Regions from separate parts of the Homo sapiens genome. Here all the other regions are linked to region 1. Evidence: promoter capture Hi-C in 16 types of primary human blood cells and fetal thymus (Javierre and others, 2016). All regions are on one chromosome and are shown on one strand. Each heading gives the region's core, a stretch centred on a gene start or on the middle of the fragment in contact. The rest is flanking DNA. Distances are from core to core; before and after follow the strand shown.

Region 1 (3,787 bases), core at 532-3,031:
TACAGCCATGGTGTTTCAAGATGCTTATCAAGTGGTATGAAAAAAGATGTTCTGAAGAGAAACTGCTTTTAGAATCTGCTTCTAAGCATACCAATTTCTACTCCTGCTGAAGAGATAAAGAAAAATCAGTGCTACCTATGGTAAATTTAAGTTATATTAAACACCACAAGAACAAGGTAAGAATCACTGCCTAGAAGTCAACTGAAGCAATGCTTTTAAACAACTTGGCAATTCCACATGATTGAACAACAGGACGAAGAGCGACATGGACAGAATATAAGATCAGAACCACTGGAACTATGTCCATTACTATTTATCTTAGATACAAACTTCTCTGCAGGACCCAGTGCAGCTCCTTCCACTTAATGAATACTCAGTAAATGTGTAATTACTCTTGAAACAGTCACTCACAAATGGTACACAGAGTATTCATTCTTTTAATGCTAGTGTGGCTGTGTACACCCTCCAAGGTTCCATACACAAGATACTACATCATTTACAGTACTATCCTGTTTCTGATTAAATGAAATAGTTGTCTGCCCTGAGCCATTAATAATAATAATAATAATAAAGAAATATCAAACAAGGCCTATCCTTAGCCTATTACTCAATTGGAGGAACTCATAAATGCCCTCAAGTCCCAGATAAAATTTCACCATCTTATATGTGTACAAAGTCTTTAACTTTCCAACGTACTTTCACCACCATTTCATTTTGCTCTCGTATTAATCATGTGAGGTATCTTTATTCTGATTCATGAAGAAACTAAAGTACAAAATTTAAACGTCTTGCTTCCAAGGACTTTAGAGTCAGTCACTGCCAAATTGGGAAACTTTAAACAAGTCATTAACTAAACGATCCTCAGTTTCTCCAATGACAAAATGGGGAAAACCACAATCTTCATGGCCTGTTGTGAATAAATGACAAATAACCATTGTTAAATCTTGTTTTTAATAGTCTTCAATGAGTATCCGTGCCCTTCCCCCCAATAGTGATAAAAGAGAATTAGGACACAGGCCCTCTTATTTGCTAGTCTAAACCACTCACACTGATACCTTGCACTGCCAGTACATTAACACCGTTAACCCTGAGCTCATAGGTGTGCTTTTTAGTTTACAACCCACTTTCATATACAATATGTGCTCTGACTTTCACAAGTGTGTGAAGCAGCATCTCCATTTCAGATTAAGAACAAAGGCTCAGAGAGGTCAATCGATTACTTGCTCAGTATATCGCTGCTTAATACATGCGTGGGACGTAAACCCATGACTTCTGACCACGAATAAAACATCTTGGGGGAAATTAGGTCCCCTCTGTCCGAAGCCCAGAGAAAAGCACGCCCTGCTGGGAGTCAGATTATTCACCCCAGGAAGATCATTTCAGAGATCAAGTCCCTCAGCCCGGAATTCAACCCCAAAACAAAAGCTACAGAGCCTCTGAGGGTCAGAGGTTTGAGGAACAGGCTACCAAGAGCACCAGAACTCTTCGACCTAAAGGAGTCCCTAGAGCCACAAGCTGCATCACCTCCCCACGGGCGTCCGCCAGGGAACAAAGGGGGCGCTATAAGAAACGCGCAGCCACATGCCGGCTCTTCTGCAGGAAGGACAAAGGCTGGGGATGCAGGCAACCTCGCCCTGCCGGGAACGACAGGCGGGAGACCTCTACAACTGCCGACCAACACTGTGGGACTGCCCAGTTTCGAGGAAGTCCTCGACAGGAGGAGTAGAGGGAAGCGGTTACCTTGACGGCTTCTCACCACGAACCCGCCATCTTGTTTCAATCCTGGTCCCACGAAACAGCGCTGCGCGCGCCGTCCCAGCCCGCGGGGCATTCTGGGAAATGTAGTCTCCGCGGGAAAGCGGCCCGGGTGCAGAGAGAAAGGGAGGATTGTTGCTATGGACTTTTACCTTTAGTTGGGGAAGCGTGGCCGCAGTGTTACTAAGGTGCCCAGAAAAACAAAATCACTGCCCCAAACACATACCCTTAGAAAGTAACAAGCTTTTTTTTTTTTTTTTTTTTGTGAGGCAGTCTCATTCTGTCACCCAGACTGGAGTGCAATGGCTCCCTCACGGCTCACTGCAGCCTCTACCTCCTGGGCCCAAGAGAGCCTCCCACCTCAGCCTCCTGAGTAGCTGGTACTACAGGCGCACACCACCACACCCAGCTAATTTTTTAATATTTTTGTAGAGACGAGGTCTCGGTATGTTGCCCAGGCTTGTCTCAAGCAATCCTCCTGCCTCGGCGTCCCAAAGTGCTGGAATTACAGGCATGAGCCACCATGCAAACCTATAAGTACTTTTTAAAAAAATTATGTTAATATTCAGAGAAATCGTAGATTGCTCTTTAGTAGATGAGTTAAAGTTTCCCAGGGGAAGAGACATTCCAGAGAAGCCCTGAAATGTGGAGGCTAGGATTTGGACGTTTGAAATCAGAACCTGAAGAGAACCTCCACTCTGAAAACCTGGCACTGTGCCCTCAGAACTGTGCTGGCTACCTATTATGGGAGGAAGTAAATATGCAGAATCTTGGACCTCGCTTTCCATCTTAGGAGGAAGGAAAGACCTCTGGGCCTTTGCACTCTCTGTTCCCATTGCCAGCAATGTGCTTCTCTGACCTCTTCTCATGACCTTACAGGTCTTTCTCAAATATCATCTTAGAAAGGACCACACCATTAAAATAGCCTCACCCACCCTTATTCCATGCCCCGCTTTATTTTCCTTCAGAATATTTACCATTACCTGACTTTATATTGATTATTTGTTTGCTCGTTGAATGTCTCTTTCTTTTTTTTTTTTTTTTTGAGACGGAGTCTTGCTCTATCGCCCAGGCCGGAGTGCAGTGGCATGATCTCAGCTCACTGCAACCTCCGCCTCTCAGCTTCAAGCGATTCTCCTGCCTCAGCTTCCTAATTAGCTGGGATTACAGGTGGCCACCACCACGCCCAGCTAATTTCTGTATTTTTAGTAGAGATGGGGTTTCGCCATGTTTGCCCGGCTGATCTCGAACTCCTTACCTCAGGTGATATGCCCACCTCGGCCTCTCAAAGGGCTGGATTACAGGCGTGAGCCACCACACCCAACCTCGTTTAATGTCTCTTATGCTGGATAATGTAAGCTCCTTGAAGACAGAGACATATGTCTATCTTGTTCTTCACTGTATGCAAACCCAGCATCTCAGACTGTGCTTGGTCTCATTATAGGTCTCCAGGAAGTGTTTGCTGAATGAATGAAAAGACTAGATAACGCTGCAAGTATCCAAGACAGTAGATGATTGGCTGGTAAAGCAGAAGCGGTCGCCTGGAAATTCCCTTCTCCCATGATTTGCAAAATTTTGCTTTTGTATATTTTTCTAAGAAATAATCTATAGCTTTTATTATGTATTCCAGGGAATTGATAAACCCCTCAACAAGTTAAGAACCATATTCCTGAAGTGACTAGTATTGAAAGTAAGTGAACACACATCACATAGTAAAGAAAACTAAATACGGGCTGTGTAGTGTGTCTCCTCATTTCCCACGGAATATCAGGAGGCTAATCTTTGCTCTTATAGAAGCCCACAGAGGGCCCATCTGTGTCCTTTCCAGTCGTGTCCATCCTCCAAAGCCACCCATGATGTCTTTCTGGACTGTGCAATAGGAAGGGACAGAGAGGAGAAACAGATTTGAATGAGCAGTCAACTGGACTGGTTGAACATTCCCTGCGTAAAGTGTAAGAAGAATGGATCAAAGATAATTCCAGAGGTCAAGTCTTGATGGCTGTGAGCAGAGTGGGACCAGTCCCCAACAGGG
Region 2 (3,787 bases), core at 528-3,027, 2.1 Mb after region 1:
CATGTTGAAAACTACATATCCGTAGTCATCTGGAGATTTCGTTGTTTAGGAATACAATTCCTAGGTGGATTTTTCTTTTTCTTTTATTATTATAATTATTATTGTCAAAGGAAACTATTATAAACTGAATGCAATAGAAAAAAAAGGGTCTACTACCACTTTTAGTTTCTGTAGTATTGGTTAATGAATATGATACTCCTCTCTACAGCCCCTCTCCCCAACATCCATGTTTTATGGCAAAAGATTATAGGCTCATAAATGCAGCTGGGGCCAATAATTGATGAATGCAATATTTTATGACAGATTATGCATTTCCTTAGACAGGTAACTGTTACAGAAATATTGCTTCTTGATTATAACCAATCAGATAATAAAAATATGTTTCAGTTTTACTGAGATGTTTGATTTTCTTAGGTCTTGTTGTGCCACACCAGGAATAAAGCTTAATTAAGGATTCATTTACTAATTGTTTATCATAAAAGCTATATTCAAGGGAAAAAGTTACATTGAATCCATAGTTTTCTGGGAGGAGAACATGGGAACAGTCTGTTTGTGACCTGTATTTCTCTGCCAACTTCAGGACTTGGTAACCTATACAGGTTTCCTATGTGAGAGGTTAAAGTGTGGGTCCTTCTGTTTCCTAAAAAGGAAGCCTATAAAGCACCACATCATCTTTTAATTATTTTCCATACAATAAAGCCAGTTTAAGGCCATGAAATGGCCTATGAGCTCCTATGTGTTATGTAACATTTTCAGTGGTTACTGTAGCAACATTTTGTCCTTTATGGCATTTCATTTCCATATAAAGTAATCTGCATTGTTATGGGATGCTTTGTCCCATAGTGATGACCATAAACCATGCTCAAGGGTCTCAAACACTGACTCCCCACTCCCTTTTGTTCTACCTGAAAGGCGCCTACTAAGCTTCTTCTTTTAGTGACTATTAAAGGGGGAAGGATGCCCTGAAGAGGTTCGTCCGCTGTCCAACAGCGACCCCTAGAGGCACAATGCCTTGAAAGTGGCCAAAACCTCCAAAACTTCAATGCTTTTCTCCAATCAAGTGCTGCTGTAATTTGCTTACCTTGAGAACTATCACAGCATTAATCAAGACCTGCCTTTACTCTGAAAACATGGGCTGCTTTTGGTGCCCAAAAACGAAAGCCCAAAGTTTCGGGAGCTTTACTACCTACTATCTACTACACATACATTTGTTTTCTCTTTGTGAGATTTAAGGGAACCGTGGAAGAATTGCTTTTTATTCATCATCAAATAAGCATAATAACAAATTTGGGCATAGTCAAGATACAACGCCTTTGATGGCTTTTCGTTAGTTTTTTGTTTTTGTTTTGTTTTGTTTTTCGCTTGAAAAATAAGTTAAAATCTCAGGAAGAAAGAAAGAAAATCCTAGCGCTTTTTCTTTTCTGAGCTTGCAACTGTTTGTAGCTCAGGCACCCGGATGATTCATCCCATGAAAGCCTTGAGCGCTCCATTTGTTTTGTAGATTTCACTACTCCCTTTGTTCCGCTTCAAACCTTTCAGAGGGCTGAAATGCATTATTACCTTGTTAAAGCTCAACCAAAATCATTTCTACAGCCTGAAGCTGTTTTGACGTGGGTTGAGTATCTCACACAAAAGAATTGCTTTTGTTCCCAGAAGCTCTTATTGGCTGAGTGGCCTTTGCTCTGAGCCAATCAGAAGCTAGTTGTTAGGCTTGGCTGGCTATTTTTAGCCCAACACGCAAAAACACTTGGTCTTGGAGGGGGTCGGCTGGAGAGTGAAAGGCCCTGTAGTAAAAGCCAACAGCTAAATGCATTTTGGATGTCAAGGCGCGTTTGACATTTTCTCTTTAATTCCTCATACGCTGTTACATTAGCATGTGTTTTTCGTAAACAACAAACTTAGAGCTGCATTTCCCAGTCCTGAATTATCCATTTAGTAAAGAGACAGAAAGGCTAAGAAACAGCATTCCCCTTTTATCCAAAAGCAACGCACGGTAGTATCTAGTTATTTCATAACGCAAAAAAAAAAAAGTCAGTTACCGTATTGAGAATACTAAGGTGTTTTTGCCAAAGAATTTTTATGAATTTTCATCTTGAGTTAGAAATTTTCAATGCCTTGCTCATAATGAATTATAGAGTCCTAAAATAATCTTTTCCTCTTGCCCTTTAAATATGTATATAATTACACGAACGAGTATACACATGATGTGTAGCAATTAAAATAATAAATGCTGAGTGTGTTTCATGCATTGAGAAAAAGCATTCTTTTGAGCATGTTCTTCCATTTAAGCCATTACTCAGAGGGCACAAGAAGTATTTTTCCCAAATGCGCTTCAAGAGACAGGGCATTAAAACACACAATTTGTTAATTATCCGATATTATCAGGAAATGAAAGTTGCCAAACGGGAAAAGCCAGGCTCTTAAACTTTGATTTTCCCTCAGCAGTCTATTCAACTGGGCTTATATAAGGAGGAGACAAGCTGAACCCAAATTTTACAACACAAAGCAATTTTTATTGGCAGCAAGGGAGACCCCTTCCTGAAAAAGAAAGAAAAAACCCAAATCTATGTCTAATTCTTAAAATATGTTTCAGGTTGTAGATTTTAGCAATATTTATTATTCAAGCTTGGGAATATGACCTCATTTGCCATGGTTGTTTGCTTATTTTAAGAAAAATGCCTTTCTACTTCTTGTTGCAAGCCATCAGGCAACCATTTAAACATGCAAGCAAAAAGTCTGGATCATGGGCATATTTAAAAATCTGGAAGACTTCAATAAGTTGTAAAGATTTACGATTCCATCGTGGGCTTGCAGAAGGGGTTTGCTGTGGCCTTCTGTGAGCAAGGGCGGCCTAGTATATGGTGGGCATAGGCCAAAGAACTTACCAAAAATTCTACCAGAGTGAAGGGAGCACAAATAGTTTTGGGGGAAAACTTTCCTTGTCTTAAGCAATACCGTATACAGTGTTTAGAAGGAATGTCACCTAGGTTTCAGAAGGTGAATTTGAAAGGCTGAAATAAAGTACTTTAGAAAGAGGTATCTTTTTCTTTCCAACATCAATTTGATGCACACAGGGACAGATTTTGAGAAGCTCTGTAATTGCTCCCAGGAGTTGAGTTAGGTTGAGGTAGTCAACCAGCTGCTAACAATTTAGTTTAATATGCAGTCTTAGTAAATTAAAGGAATCTGATAAATTGAGACCCAGCATGATTCTTATTTGTTTGCTATGGCATAACATGTTGAACGCCAGCAGAAATTAACCCATTGAAATTTTTCTACTCAAGGCCCCCATTTTATTTTCTCACTTTCCTGTGTCAGATGTTTTTGCTCCAGACTTGGTCATCTGAGCAATTCCTTAGTTTTATGCTTATCTACTTAAAAAATATATATATAACAATAATACAAATTCTAGAATCATGCTTATTTTCAGTTTTCTCTCTGTGTTTGTATTTAAACTCCTTGAAGGTAAAAATAAATAAATAAATGAGTCTGTTACTCCTCTTGTGTGTTAACCTTTCTACTTCACATGTAGATCATCTTAAACATGCTTGATGTAGATTTTGTTTTCTGTGGGAGCTGAGACACTTGTGGGAGGAGAAATGTGCAATTTTGTACTTGGCTACATCCCCAGAGGAGTGGTGACCAGAAAAGGGAAAGACAGCTTGCCAGATACCTAAAGGATAAATGAGATATTGAGCTACTGGAAACACCAAAATTTACCATTGATTCTTTCTACACACTAAACTGTTACTTGTGATAGTAGTTGTAAAAAACTGCATGTTTATTA
Region 3 (3,787 bases), core at 751-3,250, 2.0 Mb before region 1:
CTTCCAATGCTGATCTTTCCAACTGTCTTGCTACTTCATCCACTGAGGCTCCTGATTCTTTATCAGGTTCCTGTTCCCCTGCTGATCAAAATAAAATAGCAGAAATCAAATCTAATACAGACACTTTCCCACTAGAATATGCTCTAATGATCTTGGAAAACTTACAAATCCTTTCCTCAGGAAACAAAAACAGAAACATTATTGTGAACATAACAGAATTCGTTTAATGACAGAAAAATCTTCCATACCTACACAGTATTGTCCATTCATTAATTTACTCAACAAAATATCCATTACACACACTAGCAGCTAAAAGATAAACAGCGTGAACTGGTCTCTATCCTCAAGTAGTTTAACTTGTAATAGTGGTCAGCAATTAGACTTAACAAATACTTAAACACCAGATAGGTAATAAATGCTGAAGGCCTTAGGAAAAAGATTCATGTGCAACACCCCGGGGCAGCCTGGTTTCATGAATAAGGATATCACGATGGGCTGGGTAAAGTCAAAATAAATAGGCAAAGACAGTCCATTACTAAAAAACTAAAACGCTCAAATATCTAAGCACAAGACCAGGCCCCTGCTCTGGAAGTGATTATAACCTACCTATAAGAGCAATATGTTACATGCATTAATAGTATCAGGTAGCACGAAATGAAGTGACATTCTGGCTACTGGAGAGAATTCATATTAAGAAATACAACTGTTAAAAATACATTAGGATCAGTCAGCTTAACACCTTACAAGACAAACAGCAGTGTTTGAATTTCACTCGAAATCCAGGAACAGCCACCAGAGTAACAAATTTTGCTCTGGAAGAGTTCCAGCAACGCTACAACTCTCCTTCCATTCCTATCTAATCAAAATTTCAGAAAGATGAAGATTAGCTCTCTTCGACCTCTCTCAATTCCATCTTAATCGCTTCTGACTTCTCCATTTTCTGTTTCTCTGGCGATTTTAATTAGAAACAAGTAAAAATAATTTTTATTAAGGTGAAGGAGCTTGTGCAGCAAAAACACAGACTTCTCAAAATATGTAAGTTCCTAGTTCATAATATCCAACTGTAAACTCTCAGCAGTTCTCCTTGCCTTACCAGTGGATTTAGAGGTTAAGACCTCAGAAGTTCCATTCTGAGCCACAGAATATCCTATCTGCACTGCCTGCAATTGGTATCATAATTCAGGTCTAAAGGCCCTAAAGCTTGGCGATGCTATGGGATTAGGCAGGTGAAAATTCGTTATCACCACCACAAATTCTGCAATTAATGACATGAGCGCGCGGGCAAACACACATGTACACACACCCCAAAAGTGCAGGCTGCAACAACCCCAACGTGAAACGGGATAGTGGGAGGAGGTGTGCTCTCCATTACATTTGCCCACCCCCAAAGAAAATAAGTCCTAGCTTGCTCCAGCAAACCAGCAAAGACGCGGCAATACGGATCAGAATCGGATTTTTGAGGCGGCGGCCAAATCGCGCGAAAGATGGTAGGGCTGTGCTCTGCGCACAATCTCAAGACCGTGCCACGATGTGCGTGGGAGCTGAGTTCTGGTAATACAGGGGCTCGGGCCCAGCGACCCCAGAGGTACCACACGCCAACCTCAGGCACTCTTTTCTCCCCCACCAGCCCTCTAGTCCCACAGGAGGAGATGACGCCTCTTCTCAGACTAGGAATCTATAGCCCGGCTTTGCCACCCTGTCAGGCCCAAGAATCAGTCTAGTCGGGGCTCTGGGGCCCCGGTCCCGGCCCCCTCAACGGGCCTGAGCCAAACAGTTCAGCCGTTCCCGGAGGGGACTGGGAAAACATAAAACTCTCTTTACCTGCAGAAGGCCCTTTGCTCTTCTTCTTCTTTCGTCTTTTTTTCTTGGCTGCTTCCTCAGCCGTAGAGGCAGCTCCTTCTTCCCTGTCGTCTGGATCCAGGTCGCCATTCAGGTGGCTCCCGGAGGCCGCTACCTCCTCCACACCCGCCATGTTGCCCGAGAGAGCGCGAGGGAATGAGACAGAGCGGCGAGGGCCCCGATCCTTCTCCACCCGCCTACACCAGCCACGCCGGAAGCTGCTCTCGATGGTAGGGACGCAGGGAATGCTGGGACGGCGGAGGACTCAGCTGAGGGTGTCGGGCTAGCTTCGGGCCGGGCGTGCAGGAGTCTCGGCTTGGAGCCCCGCCTGGCTGGAGTCGACTGGGGCCAGACCCGACTGCTTCGTCCGGTGCCTCGGGCATTCCCGAAGCAAATCGGCAAGCGCAGGGTGAAGTTTAAAGGGGAAGTTGAGCTCTAGAGTCAGCCGGAGATACCTGTGGAGACGGGCAACCCGCCGTAGCAAGCGGCGTCTCTGCTGGAACGGAAATATTTTATATTTGCGTTTTTATAAATCACACAGGCAGTGGGGAAACGGGCTAAGAAATGTGTTCACTTGTACACATTTCTATTGTCATGACTCCACATATCTCTTAAATCTAAGAGATTTAATCAAATCTGCGTTGACATTCACAATCACAGCTCTCCGCGAGGCTCTGTAGGCACTGGAGAGAATTTTGGAAGCTGGAGTTCCGTGTTAGTTTATTGTACTACTCAACCCCGGACGGTTCAAGATGGGAACCCGTCACACTCCGCTCACTTTCCAATTCAGGACAAGAATGACAGGTTTTAACACACGGGGACACGGTCTCTCTCATTAATGCAAAAGATCACACTCCGTTTTCTCTATTTCTGGTCACCTTTCTTTTGGATTTAGGACGTTTCACCAGAAACTAATTGAATTTTGCCCATTTCTTTACTTCTTATGTTTTGAGCCTCATGTTCAAACCGCAGTTTGAGATTTAGTTTGTGGCGTAAGTGGATTGTGATTGGCTGCCTGCACCAACTCCTTCTCAATTTCTCCTGAATATGGCTTTGTCCACCTGGAGAGTTTAGGTGTTTTCATTAGTTTTAAACTAGGCACCAAGCTTCATGGGCATCAAAATGTCGTTAAGAGCCTTATTGCCAGTGAGTTTACAGTAAACCTCACACAGGCTCTGACTGCAGCTGCATAAATGTACATTCTCTGTCTTAAAGCTTCAGGCAGCACCTATCCAATAGTAATAAAAACTGTTCCTCTTATTCTTGTACAGATCTTTATCTCTTTAAATCTATCCCTATTTAGATTTTAAATTGTTTTCCCTAGTTGATTGCTGGCAATATAAAAGTTGGTAAACCGGCCGGGCGCTGTGGCTCACGCCTGTAATCCCAGCACTTTGGGAGGGCGAGGTGGGCAGATCACAAGGTCAGGAGTTCGAGACCAGCCTGGCCAATATGGTGAAACCCCGTCTCCACTAAAAATACAAAAATTAGCCGGGCGTGGTGGCAGGCGCCTGTAGTCCCAGCTACTAGGGAGGCTGAGGCAGGACAATCGCTTGAACCCCGGGGGAGGTTGCAGTGAGCTGAGATTGCGCCACTGCACTCCAGCCTGGGCGACAGAGCGAGACTCCATCCCCCCCAAAAAAGTAAATAAAATAAAAAATAAAAAGTTGGTAAACCAAACATAATACCACAAAAATAAAAATAGAAGTAGCTTCCATGTGTCCAAAATCCTTTAAAATGCCCGGCAAGACCCAGCCATATCTACTTCTCCAATGTCTCCACTCTCTTACTATTATAGCTCCAGCTCTCAAAGCTCTTTCTGACCTTGGAGCATTTCAAACTCACTGTTACTTTTATCTGGGCTGCTCTTTGCTTGGCTGACATATTCACTTATTCACTCATCCATCCATTCGTTCAATGCCTACTATAAACCTAGATCTGGCAATAT

The links. Contacts are between HindIII fragments. The CHiCAGO score rates a contact against its expected background, and 5 or more counts as called.
Region 2: a fragment that was not itself captured here is called in contact with the fragment with the promoter of MRPL42 in region 1 in 2 of 17 cell types (fetal thymus and total B cells); the score reaches 8.8 in fetal thymus.
Region 3: the fragment with the promoter of METAP2 here is called in contact with the fragment with the promoter of MRPL42 in region 1 in 3 of 17 cell types (total B cells, activated CD4 T cells and total CD8 T cells); the score reaches 7.1 in total B cells.

Annotation. Positions count from the first base shown.
Region 1 is chr12:93,465,508-93,469,294 of GRCh38, reverse strand. MRPL42 (mitochondrial ribosomal protein L42) reads right to left here and starts at 1,781. Exons shown (of 6, transcript NM_014050.4): 1 at 1,741-1,781; 2 at 1-103. The coding sequence starts at 9. RefSeq lists enhancers at 1,560-1,829, 1,890-1,949. The HindIII fragment of the contact is 2,939 bases long and covers 1-2,000 here.
Region 2 is chr12:91,379,421-91,383,207 of GRCh38, reverse strand. The region is part of intron 4 of LOC105369896 (a long non-coding RNA gene); the gene reads left to right. Among named protein-coding and RNA genes, the nearest start is that of LINC02823, 54 kb to the right of the region's middle. RefSeq lists enhancers at 651-1,482, 1,483-2,316. The HindIII fragment of the contact is 1,701 bases long and covers 927-2,627 here.
Region 3 is chr12:95,472,365-95,476,151 of GRCh38, reverse strand. It overlaps METAP2 (methionyl aminopeptidase 2), which reads right to left and starts at 2,000. Exons shown (of 11, transcript NM_006838.4): 1 at 1,822-2,000; 2 at 1-81. The coding sequence starts at 1,972. RefSeq lists an enhancer at 1,784-2,183. The HindIII fragment of the contact is 1,745 bases long and covers 1,203-2,947 here.